2 separate regions of the Homo sapiens genome follow, and region 2 is linked to region 1. The links are contacts of gene promoters, found by promoter capture Hi-C in blood cells and fetal thymus (Javierre and others, 2016). All regions are on one chromosome and are shown on one strand. The core of a region is centred on a gene start or on the middle of the fragment in contact, and the rest is flanking DNA. Distances in the headings are between cores, read along the strand shown.

Region 1 (5,410 bases), core at 1-2,500:
GCTCAGGGCTCACAGTGGATCCGGAAGCACAGGAGACCAAGAGACCAGAGATACCAGGATGAGAGATAGGACCCCTGGTTGCCAGGTTCGAGAAGTCCTAGGCTGAGTCCCTGGAAAGTTAGTCTTGCTCCTTTCTGGCACACAGTGGGGCCTCAAGAAAGCTCAGTGGATGGATGGATTGAGGGAGGGAGGGAAGAGAAGGCCGAGGGAGGGATGGATGAAGGGATGAGTGGATGGATAGGTGGGGGGGTAGGTGATGCATGGGTGAGTGGATGGATGGGTAGATGGATGGCTGATTAGATGGATGGCTGATTAGACAGATACAAGGATGGGTGAGATCGGAGGATTATCTGGGTTTTGCTACAGGAAGGGACATGGGTGTGTCTGTTTTTGCAGGTGTGTCTGCATGTCTGTACCTGAGTCCATGCCTGCATGTGTGTCTACCTCTGAGTAGCCACATCTTTGTGTGTCTGTGGGTGCCCTCTCTGATTTTGCGTCCACATCTGACAGTGGCATTGGTGTCTAGGAGGTCTGTGTGTGTGCCAGGTGCCTCTGGACACCTGCTCATCTGTGTCCACAGCTGTGTGTGGCTCGCGGTCAAGGCTACCTGGCTGTGTCAGGCTGTATCTATGTCCTGGTGTGTGTCTGCCATTCGAATCTGAATTTGTATCCATGTCACTGTGTCTGCGTGGCCAGCCGTGTTTGGTGTATCTGTGGGAGTGTATCTGTGTTTGTGTGTGTATCTCCACAGCCCTGTCTTGGTGTGTCTGCGTCTGCTCTCTGTGTATGTATATCTGAGTATGTGTGTGAGTGTGTGCGTGTGTGTGTGTGTGTGTGTGTGTGTGTGTTGGGGGTGGGGAGGTGTTCTTGATCCCAGATCTGACCTAAGAGTCCACATCTGTGTGTCCAGGTGCACCCCGGTTCCGTTGTGTGTTTCTATGAGGGTGCTGCGTGTGTCTGTATCTGAGTGTGTGTGTCCAGGTGTCTGTTCTCCAAGGTCTGAGTCTGTGGGTCCAGGTGTGTCTGTATCCTGGGCTAGTTGTGTGTCCCTGTCCGCTCCCCCAGGGGGCGCCCTCGTCCGGCCGCCGTCCCTCCCTCGGGCTCCGGTCCCCTGGGTGAGCCCCAGCGCTGGCGGCGTGGGCCCGGGACTGGGCAATGGGTGGCCTCCCAGGTCGCCGCCTTCCCGCGGGGCCCCGCCCCCGGCCCGCCCCAAAGCGGGCTATAAGTTAGCGCCGCTCTCCGCCTCGGCAGTGCCAGCCGCCAGTGGTCGCACTTGGAGGGTCTCGCCGCCAGTGGAAGGAGCCACCGCCCCCGCCCGACCATGGCCGAGGGTGAGTATCAGAGTCACCGCAGCCGCCACTCAGGGGCCCCGGGGCATTGGGGGTCAGGACCCGGTGGGAGCTGAATCCCTAAGTCCTGATTTGGAGAGCAACAGGCAGACCGGGCTGGGTGAGGAGGCGTCTCAATGCTGCTTGGAGCCTCAGTTTCCCCATCCACACTGCATAACCATTAACCCTTGCCTCCCTGGATCAGGTGAGGCAATGGAACGCGACGGGGTGTTGTAAACTGTAAAGTACTGTCCTGGCGGACCACTGGCACGTGTCCTCAGTCAGTCAGTGGGGGCTGGCTCTCTGATGTGTGCCTGGAGCTGTGCAGGGGGTGCTGGCCTGGCCTCAGAACACTTAGGTTTGGGTGGTTCTTGCCAGCCAGGACCAGGTGGTGTGCATGCCACGCCGGTGGTGTGCAAGCCAAGCCTGGCTGAGTCCTTGGCTCCAGCGGCCAGAGAGGAGCTTTCGGCATCCTATCCAGGAGCCTTCGGAAATCAGGCTTGTTCTTCCCGCCCTCACGTTCTGCAACCCTAGACCTTGGCCAATTGTTGAGTCTCACCTATAAAATAAGGACAACAGTGTCCTTATTTTATAGGACAAGGTTTATGAGATTTGTTTTCCCCCAAGACCCCCACCCATCTGTCACCCTGACCGTGCCCTGGTCCTCTGCTCCAGCCTTTGGTGCATCTGTGAGGAACGAGAGGAGTGGAACAGAGGCTTAACTAATTTCATACTGGTGCCCCTGACTCCCTCCCCACACACAAGCAGCACTCTCGTAGGTCCCAGCTGGAGGGATTTCTACAATGGAGGATGTCACTGCTGGACCCAGAATCCCAGCTGGCTCTTGGGTCAAGTTCATCTGGGGATGGCTTCTGCACCCATTGCAACCCCCAGGAAGGGGTGTGGGACAGGGACATGGGGCAGGTGGAGCAGGAATGGGTGGCAGGAACTGTGGACCCACCTGACCCTGCTGTGTGATCTCAGCCACCTGCCTCCCTCGGGCCCAGCTCCCAACACACTGTGATGTGTCGCCTCGGTGGCCGCTTGTCCTCAATGCATCTTCTCACCCCCATGCTCAAAAGCAGGGCTCAGTGGGGCTGGGAGATCCTGGAGATGCCAGTTATGATGAGCCTCCAGCCCCATGTCACAGTGGCCACTTCTGACAGAGGTCTCACTGGCCTAGAAGGCCTAGGCCCTTTCTAAGTGCAGAAATCCTATAAATCCTACAATTCTAGACCTGCATCTTTGGAGCTGGGCGTGATTTCTGGAAACCCTTCTTCGGACAACAGATGGAGAAAATGCCCCAGCTCCCACAGCCCAGGGACTGGCCGTATCTCCAGGGTCTTCCATGGGAACAACAATGGCCTCTTTCCTGCTCAAGCTCCCTGGGTCTGAAGTTTCCAAAAACATTTCCTCGCCGCAATAGGCCAGCAGGAAGTTTTTCCTTCTGGCCACTGAGGTCTCTTCTGTTGTGATTACACGGGGACCGACATCCCTGATACTTCAGTGGCGCAGAACTATCTGCCCCCAGGTTTGAGAACAACACAGGACATGGTGGCGAAGGGGTGGTCATAAGAGGGGCTGGAGAAAAAACTGAGCTGTAGTGAGGTGGTTCCCAGGGCAGAATCCTACAGAATCCTACAGCTCTGGATTCCAATCCCAAAGCAGCCACTTGCTCTGGGACCTGGAGCCACCTGGTGTCTTTGTCTACAAAATGGGAATCATGATAGCATCTATGTAAGCGGAGTTGTTTTGGGATTTAAGTCGAGATAATTCACATACAAGGCACTTTGCATCTCATTTTTGGAATAGTCGATGGTGAGCAGGAGACCTGGGCTCTCCCACTGCAAGGACCAACTTGCGGCGTGACTTTGAACAAATTCCTGCCCCTGGGCCTCACTTGGACCACATGCTGTCCAGTGGCTCCACACTCAGAGTCTGTCTTGCCCACTCCTCCCACCTTAAGGGCTTCCCCATCCTGACCTTGAGCTTGCCAAGGTTTATGAGATTTGTTTTCCCCCAAGACCCCCACCCATCTGTCACCCTGACCGTGCCCTGGTCCTCTGCTCCATCTGAAACTGTAAATGGAACTTTCACGTATCAAGCTTCTGTCCTGGGCTGGGCCGTGGGGAAGGGGGTTCCCAACACATCTTCTAGACTCACAGCAGCCCCTTGAGACTTCAGAGGAGGAGTCACAGAGAGGGAGAGACACTTATCCAGGCTCACACAGCAACACAGCAGAACTAAAACCTACCTCTGGAAGTCTCCAAAGCACCTATCATGTTAAAAATGTTTTGTTTTGGAGAATATTGAACATACACAAAAATAGACAGAATTGTTTAATAAATTCCTATGTCCTCATCACCCAGCACTGACCACCGTGGTGTCTCCTGCCCCTGCGCACCTTCATCTCAGACATCACATCATGTCATCTGTCAATGTTTCAGTATATGCCTTTAAAGGATAAGGACTCTCTTTTTTTTAACACAAACAAATTAACAAAAATTCTTTGATATCACCATTATGCCATCAGTATTTAAATTTCCAGTTGTCTCATACATGTAATAAATGTTTTAAAATACTTTTTTGAAATCAAGATCCAAATAGATCAATACATCACAACGGGTTTAAGTTTCTCTTTATAGGTTCTCTCTTCAATGTTTTTTTCATTTTCTTTCTTGCAATCTATTTATTAAAGAAACCGGACCCTTTGTCAATAATTTCCCAGTATATGAAGTTTGTCAACTGCATCCTGGTTCTGTGTTTAACTTGTTCCTCAGCCCTGGGTATTTCCTGTAAATTGAACATTGGATCTAAAGGCAAAGGCCATGTAATTGACCTGTACCAAATACTGCCCCTGCTTAAACCAAAAGAACCCTCTGATAGCAATAGAATAGCTCGTGTTTATTGAGTATTTATTACACAACAGACATTGTACTAAGTGTTTTACATGCATTAATTCATTTCTTGCTCACACCAGCCCTGGGAGGTAGATACTGCTGGTCCCATGGCTGCTGGAGGTCACACAGCTAGGAAGTGCCACAGGGGGTCACGACCTTGTGATTAAAAGATTTAGGCAAAGCTGGGCACTGTGGCTCGCACCTGCACTTTGGTAGGTCAAGGCAGGAGCCATCACTTGGCCCAGGAGTTCGAGAGCAGCCTGGGCAACATGGCAAAACCAAAAATGAAGAAATTAGCTGGGCACATACCTATAGTCCCAGCTCACTGATAAATGAAAAAATTAGTGGTGCACGCCTGTCCTCTCAGCTACTCAGGAGGCTGGGGTGGGACGATCCCTTGAGCCCAGGAATTCAAGGCTACAGTGAGCTATGATCACACCACTGCACTCCAGCCTGGGCAACAAAGCAAGACCTTTTCTCAATTAAATTAAAAAGAAAAAAAAGAGTTAGGGAGATTGGGCCCCACCTAGCCCCCGTGTGACCAGGGCTGGGGAGACAGGTCAGTCGAAACAATGGCTGTGCTTTGTGGGGAGTAAGAGGGCACAAGGCCCCCATGTCTAGGGAGGGCAGGTGCATCACTGGAGGTCTGAAGGATGCCCCCGAGGCTCATGCGTCTCCTTCTGTTTCCATAGAGCTGGTCTTAGAGAGGTGTGATCTGGAGCTGGAGACCAATGGCCGAGACCACCACACGGCCGACCTGTGCCGGGAGAAGCTGGTGGTGCGACGGGGCCAGCCCTTCTGGCTGACCCTGCACTTTGAGGGCCGCAACTACGAGGCCAGTGTAGACAGTCTCACCTTCAGTGTCGTGACCGGTGAGTACCTGCAACCCCACTCCACCACCACCACCACCACCACCACTTCCTCTCCACCCCGACATGCCCCAGAACCCTGACAGAGAACAGGACAAATAACTTTACCTTCTTTGTTCCCTGGGAGATTGCCACCTGTCATCAGCCCCATTTTAGAGATGAGGGAACTGAGGCCCGGAAAGGAAGGAGATGTCATGGCAGACCACCAGCTTTGTGAGCAAGTCTGTGCCTCTGGAACCCTGAGCTTCTGAAAGCCTATTATCACCAGGGTTGCAGGTCAGCCTTCAACCAGGAAAGTTGATCAGGATCCCAT
Region 2 (5,322 bases), core at 1,158-3,657, 42 kb before region 1:
CAGAGGCCACAGTGCCCCTCCATGGGATTTTTAAACAAAGTTTGAAGCCTGCTGTGGTGGAAGAAGATGGGCTTTCAAGGAACCCCAAGTCAGCCAGTGATGTGACTGTCAACATCCCACTGTGATGGGAACACTTTTTTCAAGCTCAAGGGGCTGGTAGGCAAGAGACAGAAAGAGAAGCACAGCCTGGAAGTCAGGCACTTCAGGTGCCACTCTGCCCTGTTGCTGATGGCCTGGTCACCCGAGGCAGGTTGCTTCCTCTCTCTGGTGCTCAGTTTACCCCATCTTTCCAATGGAGGCGTTGGATGGATGAGGATCTTTCTCATCTTGGAGAGCCCTGCTTTTGAATCCAGGCTTAACAGCCTAGTGCCTCTGAGTAGATAGGTGCTCCTCAGTTTTTCCATCTGTCCACTGGATTTGCCAAGCCTGCTGGGTCAGGAAAATAAGATCTCTGGATCCTTGTGTTCCACACCAAGACTTCTTCCTTTCCAGAGGAGTAGCCATCTTGTGAAGGAACAAAGCTTTGAAAAGACTTTTCACTGCTGGGCAGTGATGTGGGGCAGACATAGGACTGAGCCCCAATAGAAGTCTAGGCACTTTACAGTTCGCAAAGCACTTTTTGTCCATCTATTTCCCATCTGATATTTACTACAACCCTTTGGGTCACAGAAGTCATACTCTGAGATGGCCCCATTTTACAGATGGGAAGACTAAAGCCTGGAGAGGGGCAATGACTTGCCCAAGGTCACACAGCCAGGAAAGGGGCCAAGAAGGGGAAAGCACAGGGTCTGGGCCTGGTTCTGGATCAATGCCAAACCCAGGATTGTGGATGAGCGTGTGTTTTGTCAGCCACTTTGAGGTAGGCCCCTCACACCCTTGTGACACAGACAGGGTGGCTGTCACACCCACTTTAGACCCAGACAGGGTGGCTGGCTGGGGTCAGAATACAGTCTGACCTCATAAAGCAGAGATGTCCTGTTCTCCAGGGGCTGTGAATTGGCCTCCAGCCCAGGACAAATTTGCCTCGTCTCAAACCCCAGCTGAAAATAGCTCTCTGAGGCCAGAGCCAGAGAGTCCCCTGTAGGGTAAGTGCTCTGGATAGGCGGCAGGACTCTGGGGGTCCCATTGCCCTCTGCCTGGGGCATGCTGGGGAACTCTGGGTAGTCAGGTACTTCCTTAGGACCTCCTTTCCCCATCTGTGAAATGGAGGGATTAGGTCAGACCAGGAAGGAAAACTGGTGGTGTTTTGCATGTGGAATCTCTGACCTGCCCTTCCAGTCCTGCTTCCCTCTCTGTGCACTGACCATCCATCCAGGTACCCAGGCTGGAAACTTGCAAGTTGTCCTCAAACCTCCCCTTAACCCCTAAATCCACTCTCCTGATCTCTCTGTTATCTTCTACTTCTCTCTCCCTCCATCGTCCTCACCCTCATCCCAGCCTCCATCCTCTAGCCCCAGACAACTATAACAGGGTCCGCAGTGGTCTTCCTGCAGTCACTTGGATCCCCTTCATCTGTTCTCCACCCAGAAACTAGAGGGGTATTTCAAAATGTAATATAATGTCAGCCCCGCTTAACCCTGAACAGTAGCACCTCATAGCTCTCCAGATAGAAAATCCAACCTTTCTGTGATCTACAAAGCCTGTGTTGTCAGCCTCTGCCCTCCACTTCAGCCTCATCTCAATCTCCATGTCTTCTGAGTTCCAGAAGCACTAACTTGTTTTCATTTCCTCAGCCATTCCAAGCTTTTTCTGGGGTCAGGTTCCCCAGAAGTGGACCTAGGGGTGAGGATTCAGGTACAGGTGATTCATTGAAGAGGTGATCACAAGAGAAACCAGAAAGGCAAGCAGAACAGGGAAGGGAGGGAAGCCAAGGTGCAATTTCAGACCAAGTCCCTGCCTCTGCCTGACTGCGTGGGGGAACTCTGGAGGACATTTTACACCTCCAAGGCACTTCAGGCTTTCTGCAGAATCATGTGGCACAAAGCAGAGTCTGGTAGCTCCAGGGCAGACCTTGGAAGAGAGTTGCAAGTGTGGGCCCATAAAAGATAATATTCTGTATCAATAATATGTAAAAAGCTCTCACAGCTAAATACTACTATTAATAATAGTAAATTTTAAACTGGACAAAGGACCTGAATAGGCTTTTCTCCAAAGAAGATGTACAGATGGCCAATAAGCACATGACAAGATATTCAACATTACTGGCCATCAGGGAAATGCAAATCAAAACCACAAGGAGATATTGTTTCACATCCACAAAGATGGCTATAATAAAAAGACGTATAACAAGTGTTGGTGAAGATGTGGAGAAATCAGAACTCTCATACACTGCTGGTGGCAATGTAAAATGGTGCAACTACTTTGGCAAGCAGTTTGCCGGTTCCTCAAACTGTGAAACATCAAGTTATCATATGACCAAACAATTCCATTACTAGGTCAATACCCAAGAGAAATGAAAACATATCCACACAAAAATTTATACATGAATGCTTATTGAGAATTATTTCTGATAGTCAAAAAGTAGAAGCAACCCAAATGTTGATTAGCTGTTGAATGGATTTTTTAAAAACGGATTTTAAAAATATACACATAATGAAATATTATTTAGCCATTAAAAAGGAATGAAGTCACTTCCTAACATTTTACGAAGCCACTCTTATCCTGATATCAAAGCCAAATGTGGACATCACAAAGAAAATTACTAAACTTATGAATATACCTCATGAATATAAATGCAAAAATCCTCAACAAAATGCTAGCAAACCAAACATGACAGCATCTTAAAAGGATTATACAGCATGACCAAGTGGGATTTATTCTCGAAGTGCAAAGATAGCTAAACATAAGAAAATCAATCAGTGTAATATGCCAAATTAATGGAATAAAGGAAATTAAACCACACGACCATCTTAATCAATGCAGAAAAGGCATTTGACAAAACCCAATAGCTTTTCATGATAAAAACACTCAGAAAAATAGGAATAAAAGTGAACATACTCAACATGATAAAAGGCATTTATGAAAAACCCACAACCAACATCAAATTCAATGGTGAAAGACTAAAAGCTTTCTCTCTGAGGTCAGGAGAAAGACAAGAATGCCCACTTGCAGCACTGCTATTCAGTATTTTACTGTAAGTTCTAGCCAGCGCAGTTAGACAAGAAAAAGGGGAAAAAGGCATCCAACTGGAAAAGCAGAAGTAAAACTATTTATATATTTAAAAGATCAGATCTCATTATTTTATATCTCAAAAATCCCAAAGAATCCACACGAAAGCTACTACAGCTAATAAATTCAGCGAAATTTCAAGTTAGAAGATCAACACACAAAAATCAGCTGTGTTTTTATATACCAGCAACAAACAATTCAAAAAGGAAATTAAGAAAGCAATTTCATTTACAACAGCACTAGAAGAATAAAATACCCAGTACTAAATTTAACCAAGGAGATGAAAGATTTATACACGGAAACCTACAAAACATTACTGAAAGAAATTAAAGAAGACCTAAATAAATGGAAAGACACACTATATTCATGGATAGGATTGTTAAGACGTCAATACCACCCAAAGCAATATATAGGTTCAATGTAATCCTATCAAAATTCCAACTGCTTTTTTGTCCAGAAATAAAAAGCCACTTCTCAAATTTAAAACAGATTGCAATAGGCCCCAAATGGCCAAAACATCTTGGAAAGAAGGCCAAAGTTGGAGGACCCAGAGTTTTCAATTTCAAAACTTACTGCAAAGGTATAGTAATCAAAACAGTGTGGTACTTCCATAAAGATAAATGTATGGACAAAGGAATAGAATTTTGAATCCCAAAATAATCCCATGCATCTATGGCCAATGATTTTTGACAAGGGTCCCAAGTCCATTCAATGGAGAAAGAATAGTCTCTTCAACAAATTATGCTGAGACAATTGGATTTCCAAACATAAAAGAATAAAGTTGGACCCCTGCTTCACACCATATTAAAAAATTTACTAAAAATAGATCAACAACCTAAATATAAGAGCTAAAACTATAAAACTCACAGAAAAAGCCAGGTGCATTGGCTCACGCCTGTAATCCCAGCACTTTGGGAGGCCAAGGCAGGTGGATCACGAGGTCAGGAGATCGAGATCATCCTGGCTAACACGGCGAAACCCAATCTCTACTAAAAATACAAAACAAAACAAAACAAAAAAAATAGATGGCCGTGGTGGCGGGTGCCTGTAGTCCCAGCTACTCGGGAGGCTGAGGCAAGAGAATGGAATGAACCTGGGAGGCGGAGCTTGCAGTGAGCCGAGATCCCGCCACTGCACTCCAGCCTGGGCAACAGAGCGAGACTCCATCTCAAAACAACAACAACAACAACAAAAATCATAGAAAAAAAGTAGGGGTAAATCTTAATGAGCTTGGATTTGCCAATAGATACTTCTCAGATATGACACCAAAAATACAATCAACGTAAATAAAAATGGATAAATTAGACTTCATCAAAATTAAAATCTTTAGTGCATCAAAGGAAATTATCAAGAAAGTGAAAAGGCAACATATAGAATGGGAGAAAATATTTGCAAATTGTATATTTGATGAGTTTAATATACAGAATATGTAAAGAATTTATACTACAACAACAAAAAAATACAACCCAATTACCAACTAGGTAAAGAACTTGAATAGTTATTTCTCCAAAGAAGATGTACAGATGGCCAACAAGCACATGAAAAGATACATCACCAGTCAATAGGGAAATGCAAATCAAAATCACAATGAGATACCATCTCATAGCTACTAGGATGGCTATGATGTTTTAAATGCAGCAAATAACAAATGTTGGCAAGGACATGAAGAAATTAGAACCCTTATACATGGTTAGTGGGAATGTAAAACCGTGCAGCTGCTGTGTAAAACAGTTTGGAAGTTCCTCAAAAAGTTAAACATAGAATGACCTAGCAGTTCCATTCCTAGTTACAAACCCAAAAGATTTGAAAACAGAAACTCAAAGAGATTCTTGTATGCCAATGTTTATTGCGGCATTATTTACAATAGCTCAAAGATGGAAATAACCCAAGTGTCCATTAACAGATGAATGAATAAACAAAATATACACATATAATTCCATTTGTTTTATATAATCACATTTTGTTATATATATATATACACACACGCACACACATACAATGGAACATTATCTTGCCACATAAAAAGGAATGAGTTCTGATACACACGACATGGATGCACCTTGAAAAGATTATGCTAAGTGAAATATGCCAGACACAAAATGACCAATATGTATGAGTCCATTATATGAAATAACTAGAATAGGCAAATTCATA

The links. Contacts are between HindIII fragments. The CHiCAGO score rates a contact against its expected background, and 5 or more counts as called.
Region 2: a fragment that was not itself captured here is called in contact with the fragment with the promoter of TGM2 in region 1 in 1 of 17 cell types (monocytes); the score reaches 5.8 in monocytes.

The regions. Positions count from the first base shown.
Region 1 is chr20:38,161,110-38,166,519 of GRCh38, reverse strand. TGM2 (transglutaminase 2) reads left to right here and starts at 1,250. Exons shown (of 13, transcript NM_004613.4): 1 at 1,250-1,331; 2 at 4,921-5,100. The coding sequence starts at 1,322. RefSeq lists a silencer at 958-1,397. The HindIII fragment of the contact is 3,789 bases long and covers 1-3,435 here.
Region 2 is chr20:38,204,846-38,210,167 of GRCh38, reverse strand. No RefSeq gene overlaps it. Among named protein-coding and RNA genes, the nearest start is that of TGM2, 42 kb to the right of the region's middle. The HindIII fragment of the contact is 1,323 bases long and covers 1,746-3,068 here.